Linked DNA regions of Homo sapiens: region 1 is linked to region 2. The links are contacts of gene promoters, found by promoter capture Hi-C in blood cells and fetal thymus (Javierre and others, 2016). All regions are on one chromosome and are shown on one strand. The core of a region is centred on a gene start or on the middle of the fragment in contact, and the rest is flanking DNA. Distances in the headings are between cores, read along the strand shown. Region 1 overlaps MCUB (mitochondrial calcium uniporter dominant negative subunit beta). Region 2 holds the start of RRH (retinal pigment epithelium-derived rhodopsin homolog).

Evidence for each region. The method cuts DNA at HindIII sites, captures the fragments that hold promoters and counts their contacts. A CHiCAGO score of 5 or more calls a contact.
Region 1: a fragment that was not itself captured here is called in contact with the fragment with the promoter of RRH in region 2 in 1 of 17 cell types (megakaryocytes); the score reaches 5.2 in megakaryocytes.

Annotation. Positions count from the first base shown.
Region 1 is chr4:109,572,140-109,577,631 of GRCh38, forward strand. All of the region lies in intron 1 of MCUB (mitochondrial calcium uniporter dominant negative subunit beta), which reads left to right. Among named protein-coding and RNA genes, the nearest start is that of MCUB, 15 kb to the left of the region's middle. The HindIII fragment of the contact is 181 bases long and covers 3,132-3,312 here.
Region 2 is chr4:109,825,092-109,830,772 of GRCh38, forward strand. RRH (retinal pigment epithelium-derived rhodopsin homolog) reads left to right here and starts at 2,881. Exons shown (of 7, transcript NM_006583.5): 1 at 2,881-3,042. The coding sequence starts at 2,937. The HindIII fragment of the contact is 4,893 bases long and covers 2,731-5,681 here.

The sequences.
Region 1 (5,492 bases), core at 1,972-4,471, 250 kb before region 2:
CTAGAACAGGAACATTTGACACCTTATTGGGTTCATTATAAGCCGCCCTCCAGGCGTATCATAATAGAAAAGGATATAGTCTTGTACACTTACACACTAAGGAAGAGAGAGAAATACATTATAATGGTTAAATTAGAATTTGAGGCCAGAACTGAAGTTTATGCAATAACATCTGATAAGGAAGAAAATAAATATAGCTGAGAAAAGATGCTGACGATATGGTTTTAGGGAGGACTTACTTTAGAGGAATTCTGGTGATTAATAGCTAAATGAGCAATAATAGTTATTAAAAGTATTATGCATATCTGGTACATTAATTTAGTAGCATTTTATAGACAAGCTTGTTATAAATATGTTCTAAAAACTGGAAATCTTAGATATTTAGGATAGTTGAAAGATGTTAACTAACTGTATCTCAGAATAAAACGTGTCTTAGTATATAATATCATAACTGACACTAATTCACTCTAGTTCAGGGTATATTTAGAAAGAGATTAATAACTATATTAGCATGACTTCATATAATGAAGTCATGTTATTTACTTAATTACGTCACTTATATACTTGGTTTTTTAATTTGTCAGATTTGGATGTCACTATTGATCAGTTTCAAATGCATAACTTTGAGATATTAGATATATTTTCAATGGCTTTTCATACTACTACAATATAATTATTGCTTTATATAATGAAATGGCTAGATTGCCATAGCTACATTATATATTTCTTGAACTAGTCACTCTTGTGTATTGTCTGTGGAATATTAGTAAGGCTTCAATTAATGAGTTGTCCAAAGTGCTATTTATAATATGTACATATATGTAGTATTGGAAGTATTTAATATTATTATTACTGATATAAACATATTATAAACTGTACCTGTGCCCAGCAATGTCAAAACATAAAATATCATTGTAGGTCCTGTGGAATTGTCTTTTTCTGGAGTCTTATTATTCTCATCCTACACTGCACCAGACTAATCTGCACTTAGTAAGCACATATTAACCATTGCTTTAAGAATATTAGGAACAGATTGGGCACGGTGGCTCACGCCTGTAATCCCAGCACTTTGGGAGGCCGAGGTGGGCAGATCATGTGGTCAGGAGATAGGGACCATCCTGGCTAACACTGTGAAACCCCATCTCTACTAAAAATACAAAAAAATTAGCCACGCGTGGTGGTGGGCACCTGTAGTCCCCACTACTCGGGAGGCTGCGGCAGCAGAACCGCGTAAACCTGGGAGGTGGAGCTTGCAATGAGCGGAGATCGCGCCACCACACTCCAGCCTGAGCGACAGAGTGAGACTCCATCTCAAAAAAAAAAAAAAAGGAAGAGTGGTAGAAACAAAACCGATTTAGCAATGCTAGGAAAAGGTTGTTTCTCTTAATGGGGGAGAAAAGTATGTATAGGATGAGGGAGTCCTGGCTTGGTAGTTGTGTACAAAGGATCTGGAAGTTTCCGTTGATCCACTCATGAATGATGGATTCTAGAAGCTAGTATGGCTCCTAACTAATTGAAGAGAAATGCAGCATCTGATTACAGCAAGAAACAGTTCCATTTCATTACATTGGGATTGTCACATTGATTGTCAGACTGAGTCAAGGGCATTGTGTTTTGTTACTGGGGCAGTACTTTACAAAGAACACTAACAAAGCTGGACAGGGAGGTGCATTCAGAAGATGATTAAGATGGTGAGAGTTCTTGTAGGAGATGATTAAAAGGGTTGAATTTTTTTTTTTTTTTTTTTTTTTGAGACAGAGTTTCGCTCTGTTGCTCAGGCTGGATTGCAGTGGCGCAATCTCGGCTCACTGCAGCCTCCACTTCCCAGGTTCAAGCTATTCTCCTGCCTCAGCCTCCCAAGAAGCTAGGATTACAGGCGCGCCACCACCATGCCCGGCTAATTTTTGCGTTTTTAGTACAATCAGAGTTTTACCGTGTTGGCCAGACTGGTGTTGAACTCCTGGCTCTGCCTCCCAAAGTGCCAGGATTATAGGTGTCAGCCACTGTGCCCGACTGGGGCTGCATATTTTTAATCTAGTGAAAAAGAAGCTGAGGAAAAGCAAGATATTTGCATTCAAATATCTGAGATGGTATCATGTGAAAGAAGGTTGTCATTCTGTGTTGCTTCCAAGCAAGGAAATTACTCCCAAGATAGAGCAGAATAGGTAGGCAGAGTTCAGCTCAGTTCAAGAAAATTTTTGTATCCATTCTGGCTGTTCCCTAATAGACTGCTTCTTGAAGTGTAGGACTCCCAAGTTTCTAAAATAACTCAGGCAGAAGCTAAAGAAGCACTGGAAAAACTGCCAACACAGCTAGAGCCTGGTGCTGGAGAAGCCATCTATATCTATGCAATAGGAGCCTGTGAAGTGAACACACCCGAACCAGGAAGCAAAATCTTTTCCTCCGTCAGTGGCTCTCTAGTGTCCTCTACTGAAAAAACTTCAGTGCCAGTCAGCAAAGGAAAAATATTTAAAGGTCCCAGATCTATTTTCACAGAGCAGTCAAAAAGGGAGAATTTGAGGGCATATACAAGACGTTAATAACCATCATATGAGGAATGAGACAGCAGCTGTTGTGCAGTACTTGAAGGTGGCAGCTGCACTCATGAGCACTGCCACGCTGGTCAGGCCAAGGAGGGATGGGAGACAGAGCCGGACTGGTCAAGCACTGATAACGAAGTGCTCATTTTAAATACAGTGTTAGTGCCTAGAATAGAAATCAGGGAAGCAGCACTTGTTCCAGGGACAGAGAATCCAACCCAGAGATGGATTGGGTAAGACAGAGATCCAAAAAAAGTATGAGACTTAACAATTGCATGAGAAGTTAGACTGAGTAGAAAGAAAGATGGGTAGATTATTGAGAAGCCAAAAAGTTAGCTTAAATAGGAGCATTTGAGACCCAGGGCTGCCGCAGGTCAGAATGGAAGCTGAGGTGATCTTAATCTCTACGCTTCCTTTCATCGCTGATGTTCTCTGAGGTCCCTTGGGTACCCAGCTTTGATATCTATCACAATGTCAGAAACCACTGAGGTTTGGAGATTGATAAACTCAGATGCCTTGCTAAAATTAGCCTACTGCTGTTCATCCCTTGTTCTGCCCGCTCCTTACCATCTGCCTTCCCCACCAAGGAAAAGCTTTGGCTTATTTATAGTGTAATAACTATTTAGTGAGAGTAATTTTGTTTTAGCTTTTTATTGATATGATATTATTAATCTTTCTGTAAAAGGTCATTGGGGGTTAGACTGTTTGTTGTGAGGTTTTGCCTGAAACCAACTCAAGTGTACTACTCATAACTGTTGTTCATTTGAGCTTAAGCTTGGCTGCTGTACTGACAGGTTATAGTCCATCTTGACATATGAAATTCACTTTATAACGAATCCAGCCACATTCGTTTAATTAGTTTATTCAATTTAGTGGGATTGTGCTGCCATTTAATTAGTGGAGTCTGAATTTGTGCCAGTGACTAAGCATCGTAATCAACAGTTGTTATGCCTGCAATTATGTGAAAACTGACACCAAAGTCTAACCTCTCTTGGAGAGAAAATATACCACCTTAATGTATCTTTCACACTAAATTAGGATGAAATATCTTTATAGTTATCCCATTTATGTAAGGCTATTAGACATTAGAAAAAGGTCATTTCATAAGTATAGCAGTGACCATTAAAATTATTAATATTATAATAGCATAGTAATATTCTTGGTTTTGAAACTTTAGAACAGCTTTGTAGTCTGTGCTAGTCACACTGCTTTCCTGGGAACCTTTTCACTCTTATCTACCTGGTTTAGTCGAATTGGCCATCTTAGTCCAACCTGACCTTCATTCAATTGGCCACCTGACCCAGGAATTTAGAACTAAGTCTAGGATTCTCACCTCTGCTGGCTGCTCTTTTGAATAGTGGAGTTGTACTTGGGGCCATTTGGTGGTGACCATTTTCTACCATGTGGACCAAGAAGCAGTAACAATTCATTTTATAGTGATAAGCAGAATGATGCTGACAGGCAGATAGGAGGAGACGAAATACGGATCAAGAGGACTTCCCAACCTCAATATAACACTCCAGTTCCTGATCCTGAGTCCATTCCTGAGGCTTAATTAAATCCTTCTATGTAGTCTCCGTTAGAGACATTCCTAAGTCCTCAGAGTAAATTTCCATTCTTACTTATGGTAAGTCAAGTAGGTATTTGTTTCTTTCATCCAAATAACAAATATATATGAAGTGATCATTCAAACTTATCAGAAAAACATTAAGAAATGGGTAAAAGACATGAGTGGTTTTCAGAACAGGGAATAAAAATGCAAATAAACATGAAAAGTGGTCAGCCTCACTGATAGTCAAAAAAATGCAAAAACAATAGTAGAAAAAGATAACATTTGCCTTTTTTTTTTTTTTTTTGCCTGTCAAATTGCCAAAGAAAAACAAAAAACTCAAAGCGTAAAGCATGGCATGATGTGGGAACTCTTTTGTGTTGCTAGTGAGAGTGTAAAGTGATTGTATAATTCATGGTCCAACAGGAAACAGATGGCCCACTTAGATTAGGATAATTAGAGGGAAGTTTATACACAAAGGATGATTCACAGAGATGTGGGCGCAGGGGAACCACTAGGGATGGTGTACTAACCTTGGACTACTATTGATGGGCAAGATGAAGGGGTTGTGGACAACAACCCTGTGTCAAGGGCCAAGCCAGATACTCAGAAATTCTTTCTTTTCTTTCTTGTTTTTTTTTGAGATGGAGTCTCACTTTGTTGCCCAGGCTGGAGTGCAGTGGCGCAATCTCGCCTCACTGCAGCCTCTGCCTCCCAGGTTCAAGTGATCCTCCCACCTCAGCCTCCTGAGTAGATGGGATTACAAGCATGTGCCACCACGCCCAGCTAATTTTTGTATTTTTAGTAGAGCCAGGGTTTCGCCATGTGGGCCAGGCTGGTCTTGAACTTCTTACCTCAAGTGATCTGCCTGCCTCCGCCTCCCAAAGTGCTGGGATTACAGGCGTGAGCCACCACACCTGGGCAGAAATTATTTCTTTATGGTTCCTTTAATCATGAACTTTCTAATATTATTAAAACTGAAATGGAAAAATCCTCAGTCCAGGTTAAAACTTCAGGTGCTTTATTCAATCATTTTTAATGACAGAGCTAATTTTTTCCAAGTAAATCCTGTGCAGTTTTTAATACCAGCAGCTTTTGAAGTCAGCACTCCTTTTGTTTCATTAATAATACATGTAAAACGATAGCTAATGCTTAGCATGTGCCATACACTATCATGAGCTTTGTCTCACTCAGTCCCCCTCACTTCTGGGAGTCCTGGGAAATAGGTACTGATATTACCCTGTATTTATTGATCAACTGATAAAGCAACTAAGGCTCAGACCCAGCCTGTCACCTGACTTAATTGAAGTAGAGCTTTGAATATTGCTAAAACTTGATCGTTTCATAGCCTAAAATGGGTACTTGAATTCTTTTTTTTTTTTTTTTTTTTTTTTTTTTTGAGA
Region 2 (5,681 bases), core at 1,631-4,130:
GAAATTTCTAAAGTTAATTTTTCTCATCCAACATAAATGGAATATTAGAAGTTTTACTGAATGTTATTTTATTTTTACTTTTTTAAAGGGACTCTAAAAGTTTAAGGTGTTATTTACTACACGTAAATATTCGTGTAGTATACTACACGAATTCGATTGCATACTACATGTTCAGATTGCTGGGTAAGGATGTTAGAAATGAAATTGGTTTTGGTCACCATTGCTAGTGGATGTAAAGAAATGACTGTGGTAGCAAGTTAGAATGCCATGATATGGAGCCATTTACCCTGCCATTCATTTTTCACTTCTCAAAAGGAATGATGTTTCTATATCGTTTGTTAAATTTTCTAACATGCCCATGGAGGAACGCTCTTGAATGCTCATTTGAGGAGCATACAGTGTTGTCTTTGTCAGTATTTGGGGTTTTATCTTTTTCTGATTGATGGAATTGCAGCAGGATGAATAAATACATAGGCCATTAATATATATGATGAGCAAATGTGTTGAAAATTACAGTTTTTACAGGAATAGGCAGTTATGCTTTTACAGCTTAGGACAGGAGATTATTTGATTTGGAATTGTGGTGATGAAATTTTCATGGAGTGTTAGGGCCAGGGCTTTTGCTCGTGGTTTGGAAAAGATGTTAGTAAGCACCAAAGGGTGATGGCATTGTCCCAAGGACAAATAATAATAGCGCAACATTTCTACAGTTTGTTTTTTTAACATTAAAAATAAATCTAAAATGGCAATAATGGAAATAACATATAGATCAGTAGACAAACCAGTTGGAAATTTTACCGTTTAGCTTATGTATATCTTTTTTTCATTGTCCATCTTTAAGCTTTTATTTCCACATCTTTTCCTTTTTTTTCCTTATAGTTTCTGGGTTTATTTATTTGTTTATTTATTATTATTATTTTTTGAGACGGAGTTTTGTTCTTGTTGCCCAGGCTGGAGTGCAATGGTGCAATGTCGGCTCACTGCAACCTCTACCTCCCGGGTTCAAGCGATTCTCCTGCCTCAGCCTCCCAAGTAGCTGGGATTACAGGCATGCGCCACCATGCCCGGCTAATTTTGTATTTTTAGTAGAGATGGGGTTTCTCCATGTTGGTCAGGCTGGTCTCGAATTCCTGACCTCAGGTGATCCGCCTGCTTTGGCCTCCCAAAGTGCTGGGATTACAGGTGTGAGCCACTGCGCCTGGCCTAGTTTCTGGGTTTTTTTGAGGCATTTCATTTTGAATCAAATTCACATGTATTTCTAAGCCTTATCCCAATATAGCTTTTCTGTATCACCCATGAAGGAAGCATAAAAAAGAACTTCAAATGCACCTACCTCACTCATATCAAAACTTTCATCTGCAGCAGAAAGCTGACTATCTGAAATTATATATTTTTCAGTTCTTAGAAATAATTATTTCTGGAAAATTTTTCATGGATGCTACAACTAGGTATAACTTATTACAGAAAAGGAAGGTAGTATGACCCAAAGCAAATTCAAAAATTTTAAGTTTTGTTTTGCATATTGAATGAAAGAAAAGACAAAGACTTTTTAAAGGGAGTGATTTCCTCTTGGGTATTATGTTTTTTGCTCTAGGGTCATTTGAAAACAATACTGACGAGATTCGCTTTTCTAGTATAGGTATAACAATATTACATTTATAAAAATGTGAGTACTGGTAGCTATAAGATTTGGGACAGATAAATCAACCTGTTCATCTTGAGTTTATACACAGGCAAGAGAACTGAAGCAAAAGGATTATCTTAGGTTTCTGCTGTGCCATTCTAGGATTTTTATAAAATTAAACTAAGTGGGTAAATATAGCCCTCTAGTGGTTCTGTTTTATGCTTACACTGTTAACTTTGGTGCATCTAAGCATTTCTCTAATGTTTACTGATTTTAGGAAACTGAGGAGAATCAGATTTTAATAATGTTAATGGCATAAAGAATATGGGAAAAAAGGTAATAGGGATACCTTATTATTCTAACAAAACATGCTCAGGTTGGTTTTCAGGTTGTAATGTGATAATCCAGAATATTTTTATTCTGTACTTTACAATATCAGTGATTGAATTCAGATACTCTGGCAAAGTATACAATGATTACTATCATCAGATAATATTAATTACTCATGTGCATATCAAACTATAGGGGAAATTAACGGATGGTGGAGTTGATCATATTATATCCATGCTATGAAATACATAGCTACTAATAAATTAGACTTTATTAGATTCTGGGTTTATTAACTTGGATATTATAATACAGCCTTATGGGAAAACAAGTTGCATTATATATATACATTTGTACTTATTTTTTTCCCTCATTTTTATTTACAAGAAGAAAGTGGAGGAAACCTGAAACACTTGTATGAATATGTGTATAAGCAGAGAAAAGCCTAAGAAAGGATATGCACCAAACAATACTGGTACCTTTAGGAGAGTGAGATTTGGAAGTAGGAAGGAGACTACTTCTTTGTCACTAATATTTAAATTGTTAAGAAAAAAAAAACAACAAAAGGAGCCGAAATGGAAAGACTTGAATGGTCAACAGAAAACAGGGACCTTAATCCGAATAGTTTTAGAGGACTAAGGCTGGCTCCTATACTGATTTCCTGAGTTTGTTTATTGTTAAATGGGATGTGTGTGCTTGATAATCTCCTTAGATAGAAGACTGATGCCCAAATAGGTTAAAATGTGTGGTGCTTGGTATTTCTTTTTGTTTTGCTAATAAGCTTTTCCCTTATTCTGGGAATTAAAGTCCTTTCCTCTTTAGCCCAATTAAATTTGTTAAGGGAGGGCCTCTATGAAAAGGCCCTTCTTTGAGGTCTCTAAGTGGAAATGATTGGTCCTAAAAAATCTTTCCTCAGTAGCTCATAAAGCAGTTCATAATTATCGAAGGCTTATTATGAAGGGTGTTTCGGTATCTTCCCTCCAAAATGCTAAGAAATAATTTAGGCAACAGTTCAGACTCTAAAAATGAAGATGGCTCGGTCTTTTCACAGACTGAACACAATATTGTTGCAACTTACTTGATTATGGCAGGTATGGATATTTAAGTAAGTTATTTTTCTTTAGAATGGGTGAAGAAAGGCAGAAGTTTTCAGCATAAGGCATGCATTGTTTCAAGTTCCATATTATTGGCCAACCTTGACAAGTCATTTATCCTGACTTGGCTTGCTCGTTGGTAAATGAGGATGATGATACTCTATTTCTGGGCTGTAAAGATCAAATAAGATAATGTGGGTGAAAGAATAAGGGAAAGCATTGTTAGTGATGGCCATTGCCACAGGTTATTTTGAATTTTGGTAAATAAGAGCAGTGAAGTGGGGCTGAGAAAAGTTTTCTATGTGATAAATAGTTCTTTCATAAAAATCTATGTATTTGATTATTGGATTGTTAAAGTTTTTATTGGAGAAGAGTATGCACCATGGCAAAAACATATTTTTATGTCATTTACTATTCTTATACATAACCCTCATATTTTTGTTCTTGGTGGTAGAATTTAGCTAAGAACTTAAAGGTTCTGGAAAGAAAAAGTCCTAAGAAGACAGAGCAGGGTATATTGTCATTGAGGACAGAGTCTGAAAATTCAGCTTGTTCCAGAATGCTTATTGGAAAACTCTTGAGTTTTGGATTTCATCTTTTAGTATATTTGCAACTGTGAGCATGTATCTTCCCTTTTTGTTCTTCCATTTTCTCATCTGTAAAACAAGGATAAGAATAAGTTATCTGTCATGATTGTTATAAGGAGTAAAATTAAGTGACACATAAATGCCATATAGTAGGTGTTGGACAAATATTTGTTTCTTTTTCCCTTTCCTCCCTACACACTCATTGATGTAAAGGATTGTTTGCAGAAAAAAAGGGATGGGGGAATGACAGAAACTTTTTATCTTTTTAATGTATCATTGAATTGTGTAACTTTTATATTGAGCAATCACTTAATTTTCAACTTTATACTCTAACGAGTTGTAGAAGTAACTCTTATATTGAGTTCATTATTTTTTGGATTGACTTTTATAAAAATTTTCAAACATTCAAAAGTAGAGTGAAAAGTATAACACACCATCCTATACCCAGTTTATAATTGTTTACGTTTCTTCCTTATAATTCAGCGTATTACTTCTAGTACTGGAAATTGAGTTCCTCAGTTAAGTTTTGCGATTTTAGTGACGTTATCTCGTTCATTTGAATACCTCTATGATAAGTACTAGACAAGTTCTAGTTTTTTTGTAATTGCAAAAAAGACTGAGAAAATCTCCTAACAATTACATGGAAATACTTTGTATACAAGTGTTTGGTTTAGTTAGTTATTTGTAGATGACCAAAAAAAAAAAAAATCCAAAAAACAACCAAAACTATCCTTTTTTGACCTGGTTACAAAATTAGCATGCAGAAAATATTCTATTTAGTTCTTATCTCTGTAACAGTAATAATAATAGTAATCTTACTACTACTGCTACTAATGTTATCATTTGAATACTTGCTATATACCAAGCACTGTTCTAAAACCTTACACATACAGAATAATTCATCCTTACACTAATTTAGTAAGTTACTCTTCAGTTTTATTTCTCTAGTTTATACAGATGAAGAGCTTAAGAAACTTGTCCAGCACACACATTTACTAAGCAGCTACACCAGGATTTGAACCCAGGCATTTTGGTTCTAGAGCCCTCACATATAAATCCAAGAGTCAGCTTTATCAAGGTATACAATGAGTGTGTGTTGTTTGTGTTTCTGGTGGATCCACTGAAGGAAGCATAGCTGAACTCTTTATGCTTTTGTTCTGCCCCTGTATCAAGCATCTATTTTTCTTTAGATCCCCTAACTTTCCTCCTTTAACAAAACTCACTTAAAGTTGCAAATCAAAACCAAAACTATGAGGAAAGGGTGTAGTGAAAGCATTTATTTCATTCGTTACTTTTACCAAGGGCCTATTTAGATTTTTTATTTAATTTTTAATTTGATCTTTCATTTATAGTTTGGCTCCTATAAACTGTTACAACTTCCAGTGCAACAGACATTTTGTTAATTTAGTGTCCTTGAGCACTCTCCCTTTCCCCAGTTAAGGCTGGGAGGTAAGAGGACATGGTGAATTTGAGGATCTGAAATAAATCATTATGTTTGAACTGTAAAATGAAGGGTGAGAGGTTGAAAAAGATGGCTGAGTACCAGACAGTGATGAGCCGTGTAAGTTTTAAAGGTGACAGGGAGTCACTGAAGGGTTTGAAATGGGAGTGACATGATCTGATTTGTGTTTTAGAAATGTGCTATAGTGGTAGCTAAGGGACCACATAGGAGGCCATTGCAGTGATTCTGAGGAGGGAGTAATCGCAGTGGGGACAGAAAAAAGTAGATACATTCAAGAGCCAGAAGGTGGAATTGATGATTGGATGTTGGGATTGTGGGAGAAGGAGAGAAGTATCAAAGATGATGCCTAGGTTTCTTTTTTGAGCCACTGAATAGATGGTGATGCTCTTCATCAGATGGGAACACACCTGGGGAAGAACAGGTTTGAGGCAGGAGAAAAAGTCTCTCAGTTCAGTTTGAGAGGTGTCCAATAAAAAGCTGGACACATGGGTTTGAGTGTCCGGAGGCTGAAAAATATCAGGGTATAGCCTTGGGTATGAAGAAATTACTCAGAGTATGTGTTAAATGTGAAAAGAAAGGGATCTAGG